Regions from separate parts of the Homo sapiens genome. Here all the other regions are linked to region 2. The links are contacts of gene promoters, found by promoter capture Hi-C in human tissues and cell types (Jung and others, 2019). All regions are on one chromosome and are shown on one strand. Each heading gives the region's core, a stretch centred on a gene start or on the middle of the fragment in contact. The rest is flanking DNA. Distances are from core to core; before and after follow the strand shown. Region 1 overlaps CELF1 (CUGBP Elav-like family member 1). Region 2 holds the start of MYBPC3 (myosin binding protein C3). Region 3 has its middle 14 kb from the start of PACSIN3.

Region 1 (3,097 bases), core at 595-3,094, 150 kb before region 2:
GTTTCACCGTGTTAGCCAGGATGGTCTCGATCTCCTGACCTCATGATCCACCTGCATCGGCCTCCCAAAGTGCTGGGATTACAGGCTTGAGCCACCGTGTCCGGACTAATTAAGACATTAAACACACACACACACATACACACACACGCACACACGGGCAGTTTTTTGTGAATAACTTTCTTTTAATTCTACTTTTAAATTTCCCTTAATATTTGCATTTTTGTATTCCCATAATTGCTTTTATCACTTAACTTCATAACCTCTTTCTAAAATTGACTTGTGATTAATTTCTGTGCTCTCTTTTCCCAAAGTATGTTGAATTTAATTATACTGAGATAACTCTGGTGACCTGCCTGAGAAGAAGTGCCCTCTTTCATGTAATAACATTTCCATCTTGTAGGTTTTTAAAGCGGTGTTGCTTTATAAATCATAAAATGGACTTTAATAGCAGTATAAGCACAGAGAATTTATGGGCCCTGCTTTCTATTTTCAACTGCTTTATAAATTGGGCCTCTGGAGACTTCTTTTGAACAAAAGTTCTATGACTGGGAAAAAATGATTTTAAGACATTACTCTAAATCATATTTCCCAGCCCTTGGCTTGGTGGAAACTATTTTAAGGAGAGCACATCTTTTCATACATTGGACAGTGCCTGGCAACTCAGTAATGTCTCCATTTAAGTAGTCTTTTGTTATAGATGTGATTCTGATTTGAACTAGAGATACAATTAGATTTCATATGTTTTTAGGAAATATTAAAAACACAATAACCTTGAAATTTAGGTAAGTTCCTTGAAATTTATTGAATCCTTTTTAAAGGATTTTTTTTTGGTGGGGGAGACGGAGTCTTACTGTCGCCCAGGCTGGAGTGCAGTGGCGTGATCTCAGCTCACCACAGCCTCTGCCTCCTGGGTTCAAGCTATTCTCCTGCCTTAGCCTCCCGAGTAGCTGGGGTTACAGGCGTGTGCCACCTCGCCCAGCTAATTTTTTTTTTTGATATTTTTTAGTAGAGATGGGGTTTCACTATCTTAGCCAGGCTGGCCTTCAACTTCTGACCTCAGGTGATCCGCCCGCCTTGGCCTCCCAAAAGTGTTGGGATTGATTACAGGCGTGAGCCACCATGAGCTGTTGTTGCTCAGCCTTTTTAAAGCCTGGAATGTCTTTTTAGAGGAATTCTTGCACTAAAAGATCTAATTTGGTTGTCGACTCAGTTATTCTTTGGTCTAGGCAGCTTTCTATAGGAAGAGGCATGCCATCAGTTCCAATGTACGTAGGAGAAACTAGGACAAACATAGCCAGTAATCTAACCAGCCCCAGCTAGGGTTACCATCTTCTGCCTGACAGGCATGGGCTTGGTAAACTGTGTACTGTGTGTCAGTTGCACAGTCTCCTCTCACTTGCAGTTTGTTTTTGCCGCTTTAATAGGGTGGAAGAGAGCTCCTGCCACTTCTGCCTCTATAGTAGTAAATCAGATGAGCGAGTCTCTGGCAAAAATAGAAAAAGCAGTAAGCTGCTGTTACAGTACAGTTCTAGATTTTGGATGATGACGTCTGGACATGGACAGAAGAGACAGTTTTCACCTTCCTGGGTCAGGTGCAGACAGATGTTAGCCATTGTTACACAGATTAGAACTTCTAGGCCTATGCCATTGTGTGTTGCCTTTCTTTTTTTTTTTTAACGTTAACTCTGTGTGTTTAGTAGTTCATTCGTTTTACTTCTTTGCAGGCTGAACATAACTTCTTTTTTTCAAAGTTCCCTGTGTTGTGAACTGAGCTTGGGTGAAGTGAAATCTTTGAGGTAAGGCAACTCTAATGATAAAAATGGAAAGAAAGCCTGTGAAATTTGGGAGCCTTCAGAGATAACATTTTAGAGTCACTGCCTAAATATTGAAATGCCGCCATTTGTTGTTTGGGGGGATGTGGAGCTAAATTGAGAACGGGAGCACACATCTGCCTTGACTGCTAAGTATATCCATCTCTACTGCTCACCCATAATAGAATTTTTATGTGTGCACTCACTAGTCTTGGTTTTATCAACAGTTTAAAGGAGGAAAAAGAGAATGAAGAGACTTCATTTCTTGGTTTTTCCCTTACATGTTTGAGTGTTGTCCCTGGTAGGCCCTAGTTCTTTTTCATTATTATCACTAAAGTGGCTTTTGTTCTTTGTTTCTTTAGAAAGGACAACAGAGAACTGAAAATACATTATTTCCTAGTATGCTAGTAAGAAGCAGAATATTACTATTCCATTTTTATTTTCTGGCAGATGAAGCTTCAGAGTTAGTAAAGAAAATTTCCCTGTGCCATCTAATGAGTGTTACTGAACAAAGGATTTTTGAAGTCTTTCACCCAGATGAGGAACCATTAGATAGCACACCTTGCTCTAACCATTAGATAGCACATCAAGAAAGCAAGGTCAGTTGAGAAATTGATGCTCTTTTGAAAATATCAAGAAAAAAAAAAAAGCAAGGCTGATCAACTGTAGGCAGTTGTATGTGAGTGGTAAGTTTCTGGTGGCCAGTTTATTCAACCAGTTTGCCTCTGGCCTGCTTCTGATGGTCTTATCATTCCTCTTTATGTGACTGTTCTGAGGTTAGTTTGGACCTAAGCACTGTGCTCATTGCTGTCTTTGGCACATGGAAACGTAAGTTTAAAAGCAAGGCTAACAACCCATTTCTTCGGTGAGCCTTTTCTTGCTTCAGGTAGTTTCAGGCTTTGGGGGACCTTAAAAACTGGTTTGCAGGGAGGAGTTTGGAGGATGTGAAACAAGTTTGTGTTTCTTCTGCTCTGTTAGCCACTGCTATCTTCATGGATCTGACACTATTTATCTGACAGTGCACTTAGTACTGCTTCGCCAGGGAAAATTGCACAAAACAAGCCTGGCGCATCAGCACTTTCATTGTGTGCTGGGCTGAGCCTCCCTTCACATGGTCACATCCCCATTTTAATCCAATACTCCCTTTCCCTACCCCTTCCCCAGTCCTGCCTCTTTCTGTGGCACTTATTGCTGGTTTCCCTGAGCTCCTGTTTCCACTTTGTGTTTTTTGTGGGGCCCAGGAAGCTAAAGCTGTGTGTATTTGTGGATCAGACAAGTGCAGCAAG
Region 2 (3,051 bases), core at 284-2,783:
TAGACCCAAGTGAATCCCTGGTGGGACCCCCAGGTTCTATTTGCTTTCTAGCTCCTAGCCACAGCAGGGGAGAAACAGACCAAGCTGAGCGGAGAAGCCTGTAAGTCCTGTGTTTTCCTCCAGACGGTAGCAAGTAGTGGCAGTAGACAGCCTGGGAGTGAGGGACTTCCCAACGCTGTCAAAGACCTTAGGGAACCCAGATTCTGGGGCCATTATCGTAGGGACAAATACCCGCCCCACACCTCCTCAACCCCAGAGGGCTCACTGCAGCCCAACCCTGCAGCTCCCTAGTCCTACTGCAGGGCCACAAGAGAAGGCAAAATGGTGTTGTGTCTTCATTCTTCTATTTTTATTTTTTTTTTTTTGAGACAGGGTCTTACTTTGTTGCCCAGGCTGGAGTGCAGTGGCACGAACATGGCTCACTGCAGCCCTGACCCCCCGGGCTCAAGTGATTCTCCTGCCTCAGCCTCCCGAGCATCTGGGACTACAGGTGTGCGTCACATGCCTGACTGATTTTTGTATTTTTTGTACAGATGGGGTTTCATCATGTTGCCCAGGCTGGTCTCGAACTCCTGAGCTCAAGTGATCTGCCCGCCTCAGCCTCCCAAAGTGCTGGGATTACAGGTGTGAGCCACTTCGCCCAGCCCATTTTTATTTTTTTATTATTATTCTTTGAGATATTAATAATAAAAAATAATAATAAATAATATTTTTATTATTATTATCACTCTGTCACCCAGGCTGCAGTGCAGTGGTGCGATTTTGGCTCACTGCAGCCCGGAACTCCTTGGACTCAAGCGATCCTCCCACCTCAGCCTCCTGGGTAGCTGATACTACAGGTCCACACCACCACACCTGGCTAATTTGTGTGTGTGTGTGTATTTATTTTATTTTTTATTTTTTTAGTAGAGATGGGGTTTTGCCATGTTGCCCAGGCTGGTCTCAAACTCCTGGCCTCAAATAATCTGCCTGCCTCGGCCTCCCAAAGTGCTGGGATTACAGATGAGCCACCACACCCGGCCTAACATTTTTAAAATTATAAACCCACTTCATACGTGTGACAATCCTGTGCAGTGGGTGCTGCTTTCACCCACCCCGCTTTACAGATGAGGAAACCAGGTGCTTTGAGATTAAAGAGATGGCAGTGCTAGGACTCAGAGACACCCTGGCCCCAGGGTCTGTGGACATGACCACTGCCTGAACTGCCTGCGAGGATGCTCCTGACCCGTTAGCCTTAGGGTTATGGGCCCAGCATGCTCCCACCGTACAATTTGCTGTAAGAGGGACACACACGGGGCTTGGAGTACCCCTGAGGCTTGCCAAAGGTTGGGGAGGCAGAATTGTGCTGCGGGGGGTGAGGGGGGAAGGGACAGGAGCCAGCCAGGGACAATGTGGCCCTACCTTCTCCCTGGAGAGACCTCAGCTCTCTGGAATTCATCTATATTTAGCAGGTGGCTGGACAGGAGGCAGATAAGCAGAGCCTGGGGAGGGGGGAGGTCCCCATATATAGTGGGAAGGACAGGACCCCACTCAGTCCCTCTTTGGGTGACCTGTGCCTGCTTCGTGCCTGGTGTGACGTCTCTCAGGATGCCTGAGCCGGGGAAGAAGCCAGGTAGCTTTAGGACTGGGGTTGGGTCTAAGTGTGGGAGCAGGGGGGTGTCTACAATTGGGGAGCAGGGCTAGGAGGGAGTTCTTGAGGGGGTTGACGAGGACGTGGCCTCTGAGCCCCAGGACAGGGGCAGCCAGTCCTCCAGGGTCCTTTTTTGATTCTCGGTTTCTTTTTCCCATCCCTCTGATGAGAGGTGAAGGTAAACCCAAGGTCAGGGACGCAGAGAGGGGACACAGCCAAGACAGGAAGCACCCGGGGTCAACCCATTCTGAGAATGCAAAGGGACCCCTTCCCTGTCCCATTGCCTTCACCTTCCACAGCAAGGTTCCCCGCGGACAGAGCCCACGTTTAGTATGGAGCTGAGCCAGGCTCACGGCATGCCTTCAGACCAGTCTCTACCCACTATGGGTCTCAGTCTCCCAACCTGGGGTGCCGGGGGTGGTGGTGGCATTGGGTTGGTTCCTCCTGGCTGTGACATTATCTGCTTCATGAGCCTGTACGGTGTGGCCCCCATGTTGAGGGTGACACAGCCCCTCTTCTCTGAGAGAGGACAGTCAGGAGCCCCTGAACCCAGGCCAAGGGCAGGGAAAATCACAGCCCAGGGACCTGGGCCTGGGCTGTGCCCTTATGAAGGTTGTCCAGGGCAGAGATCCAGGTCCCCATCCCCCAGCGCCCTCCCAGGCCAGCTTTATCTCAGTTGCTGATACCCAGCCTGAGGTCCTTGGAGGACAAATTTGGCCACATTCCAAGTAGGCAGACTTCCCCGCCCCCTGCCAAGGGCCCGAAATGGTTGGGGGAAAGGGAGCTGGGTTCATCACGGGTGTCTCCAAGCAGGGAAAGTGGACACATGCAGAAAAAGTCTTGTTGGGAGGTCAGGACCACAGCCCTGGCTCTCCCGACTGCTAGCTGTGTGATCTTGGAGGAGCCGCTTAGCTTCTCTGAGCCTCAGTGTCCTCCTCTGAGAAATGAACAGAATAACTGCAACTACCTCAGAGAACTGGTAGAGTATTACGTGAGGGGATGCATAGAAAGTGCTAGCACAGTATTTACTGAGAGGGGCTGCAGGGGCGGGGTGCACGCTCCAACCAGGGGCCGCTGTAGCCTCCACCTGGCCCTTCAGTCTCAGCTTTTAGCAAGAAGCCACGGTCAGTGGAAGTGGCCGCAGGCAGCCCTGCCGTGTTCGAGGCCGAGACAGAGCGGGCAGGAGTGAAGGTGCGCTGGCAGCGCGGAGGCAGTGACATCAGCGCCAGCAACAAGTACGGCCTGGCCACAGAGGGCACACGGCATACGCTGACAGTGCGGGAAGTGGGCCCTGCCGACCAGGGATCTTACGCAGTCATTGCTGGCTCCTCCAAGGTCAAGTTCGACCTCAAGGTCATAGAGGCAGGTAAGATCCTGATCAGCCTTCCCTGAGGTTTGGGCTGCTGGGGGAGGGGCAGCCC
Region 3 (2,941 bases), core at 257-2,756, 150 kb after region 2:
CTGGGGTTAGTTAAGATGCCTCAAAGCACAGCCTGAAACAAAGCGCTTTACTGGAGTGTGCAAGGCAGGTCTCCACTGCTCGAACATGGTTCTTTTGTTGTTTTTTTTTTTGAGATGGTCTCCCTCTGTTGCCCAGGCTGGAGTCCAGTGGTGCGATCTTGGCTCACTGTAACCACTGCCTCCCAGGTTCAAGTGATTCTCCTGCCTCAGCCTCCCAAGTAGCTGGGACTACAGGTTCACCACACCTAAGTTTTGTATTTTTAGTAGAGATGGGGCGTCATCATGTTGGCCAGGCTGGTCTCAAACTCCTGACGTCCAGTGATCCACCCATCTTGGCCTCCCAAAGTGCCAGGATTACAGGCATGAGCCACCGTGCCTGGCCCGCACATGGTTCTTTCTATCCACCATGGAAAACCTCTCAAATCCTAAAAATGCATTCTGGGAAAATGTGGCATTAAGCAGGACATTTGCCTTGCTCATAAATCCATTATAGCTAGAGGCGGCCTCCCTGCCCATGCATTTCCTGCTGCCTCTGCCTGGAGCACCCTCCCCCTCCCCCTCGATCAATCTCAAGATTCAGCTTAAGTGTCACCTTCTTTGGGAAGACTTCCTTGACACTATCTTTTCCTTTTTCTTTCTTTCTTTTCTTTTCTTTTCTTTTCTTTTTTTTTTTGAGGCAGGGTCTCTCTCTGTTGCCCAGGCTGGAGTGCAGTGGCATAATTGCAGCTCACTACAGCCTTGAACTCAAGTGGTCCCTCCACATCAGCCTCCCCAGTAGCTGAAACTACAGGTGCAAGCCACCATGCCCCAGTATTTTTTTGTTTTGTTTTTTTGTTTTGTTCTAGAGTCATGGTCTTGCTATGTTGCCCAGGCTGGTCTTGAACTCCTGGCCTCAAGTGATCCTCCTGCCTTACCCTCCCAAAGTGCTGGGATTGCAAAGTGCTGGGATTACAGGTGTGAGTCACCACGCCCGGCCAACACTGTTCATTCTTTTTATTTATTTATTTTTTTGAGACGGAGTTTCGCTCTTGTTGCCCAGGCTGGAGTGCAATGGCGCAATCTCGGCTCACAGCAACCTCCACCTCCCGGGTTCAAGCCATTCTCCTGCCTCAGCCTCCAGAGTAGATGGGATTACAGGCATGTGCCACCACACCCAGCTAATTTTGTATTTTTAGTAGAGACAGGGTTTCTCCATGCTGGTCAGGCTGGTCTTGAACTCCAGACCTCAGGTGATCTGCCTGCCTCGGCCTCCCAAAGTGCTGGAATTACAGGCATGAGCCACCGTGCCCAGCCAACACTGTTCATTCTTTACCCCATCCTAAGCTGACTTAAAGTGCCCCTTTTCTGTGCCCCCCCTCCCTCCATGCCTCTTCTCTCAGCAAGCTTATCGCGTTCCATTGTAGTTGTAGGTTTACTTGTCTCCCACTCTTAGAAGAGACAGTCCATTGGGAGCAAAGAGTATTTTCCATTTCAGCATTTCTTTTTTGTTTTTGTTTTTTTTAAGACAGGCGTCTAGGCCGGGCACAGTGGCTTACACCTGTAATCCTAGCACTTTGGGAGGCCAAGGTGGGCAGATTGCTTGAGCCCAGGCGTTTGAGACCCGCCTGGGCAACTTGGTGAGACTCTGTCTCTACAACAATAACAACAACAACAACAACTTAGCTGGGCATATGCAAGCCTGTAGTCCCAGTTACTCAGGAGGCTGACAGGGGACAATTACTTGAGCCTGGAAGGTGGAGGTTGCAGTGAGCCGAGATCGCACCACTGCATCCCAGTCTGGGTGACAGAATGAGACCTTGTCTCGCAGGAAAAAATAAAATAAAAAGACAGGAGTCTGGCTCTGTCACCCAGGCTGGAGTGCAGTGGCATGATCATAGCTCACTGTAATCTTGAATTCCTGGCTCCAGTGATCCTCCTGCCTCAGCCTCTCAAAGGGCTGGGATTACAGGCATGAGCCACCACGCCTGGCTGAGCGTTCCCTTTGAAACAGTGAGGAGGAGAGTAGATTTTAAATAAATGTCAGTATAATTAATGATTCTTCTGCCTGCCATCCAATCACCCCCTTTATCTGGCCCCTCTTACCTTTTTTTTTTTAGACAGACTCTCACTCTGTCGCCCAGGCTGGAGTGCAGTGGTGCGATCTGGGCTCACTGCAACCACCAACTCCTGGGTTCAAGCAATTCTCCTGCCTCAGCCTCCCAAAGTAGCTGGGACTACAGGCACGTGCCACCACGCCCAGCTAATTTTTTTGTATTTTTAGTAGAGACGGGGTTTCACAGTGTTAGCCAGGATGGTCTCCATCTCCTGACCTCGTGATCCACCTGCCTCAGCCTCCCAAAGAAGTGCTGGGATTACAGGCATGAACCACTGCGCCCAGCCTTTTTTTTCCTTTTTTGAGACAGAGTCTGGCCCTGTCACCCAGGGTGGAGTGCAGTGGTATGACCTCGGTTCACTGCAACCTCCACCTTCCAGGTTTAAGCAATTCTCCTGCCTCAGCCTCCCGAGTAGCTGGGACTACAGGTGTGCGCCACCATGCCTGGCTAATTTTTGTATTTTTAGTAGAGACAGGGTTTTTCCATGTTGGCCATTCTGGTCTTGAACTCCTGACTTCAGGTGATTTGCCTGCCTCAGTCTCCCAAAGTGCTGGGATTACAGGCGTGAGCCACTGTACCTGGCCTCCTCTTACATTTTTTAAAGGAAATAGAGGCAAGAGAGGCCTCACTATGTTGCCTAGGCTGGCCTCAAACTCCTGGGCTCAAGTGACTTTCCTGCCTCATCCTCCTGAGTAGCTGGGGCTCCAGGCACACGCTACTGTGCCCAGCCAGCCCCTCTGACTCTTGAAAGATCTTCAATATGAGGATCTCTTCAAACTGCCTCCTATCCTACCAATAAACGTCACTGTTCCCAGCCAGCCACCACCAGGAACACACCTGTAGCTGAA

What was found. Contacts are between HindIII fragments. The study calls those that stand out against the background at their distance.
Region 1: a contact is called between a fragment that was not itself captured here and the fragment with the promoter of MYBPC3 in region 2, in 3 of the 25 tissues and cell types used here (adrenal gland, hippocampus and mesenchymal stem cells).
Region 3: a fragment that was not itself captured here is called in contact with the fragment with the promoter of MYBPC3 in region 2 in 1 of the 25 tissues and cell types used here (spleen).

The regions. Positions count from the first base shown.
Region 1 is chr11:47,499,560-47,502,656 of GRCh38, reverse strand. It overlaps CELF1 (CUGBP Elav-like family member 1), which reads left to right. Exons shown (of 15, transcript NM_001376376.1): 2 at 1,725-1,796; 3 at 3,053-3,097. Among named protein-coding and RNA genes, the nearest start is that of RAPSN, 52 kb to the right of the region's middle. The HindIII fragment of the contact is 7,858 bases long and covers 1-3,097 here.
Region 2 is chr11:47,351,184-47,354,234 of GRCh38, reverse strand. It overlaps MYBPC3 (myosin binding protein C3), which reads left to right and starts at 1,533. Exons shown (of 35, transcript NM_000256.3): 1 at 1,533-1,612; 2 at 2,730-2,996. The coding sequence starts at 1,588. RefSeq lists enhancers at 1,909-2,889, 2,890-3,051. The HindIII fragment of the contact is 22,693 bases long and covers 1-3,051 here.
Region 3 is chr11:47,198,813-47,201,753 of GRCh38, reverse strand. No RefSeq gene overlaps it. Among named protein-coding and RNA genes, the nearest start is that of PACSIN3, 14 kb to the right of the region's middle. The HindIII fragment of the contact is 2,521 bases long and covers 246-2,766 here.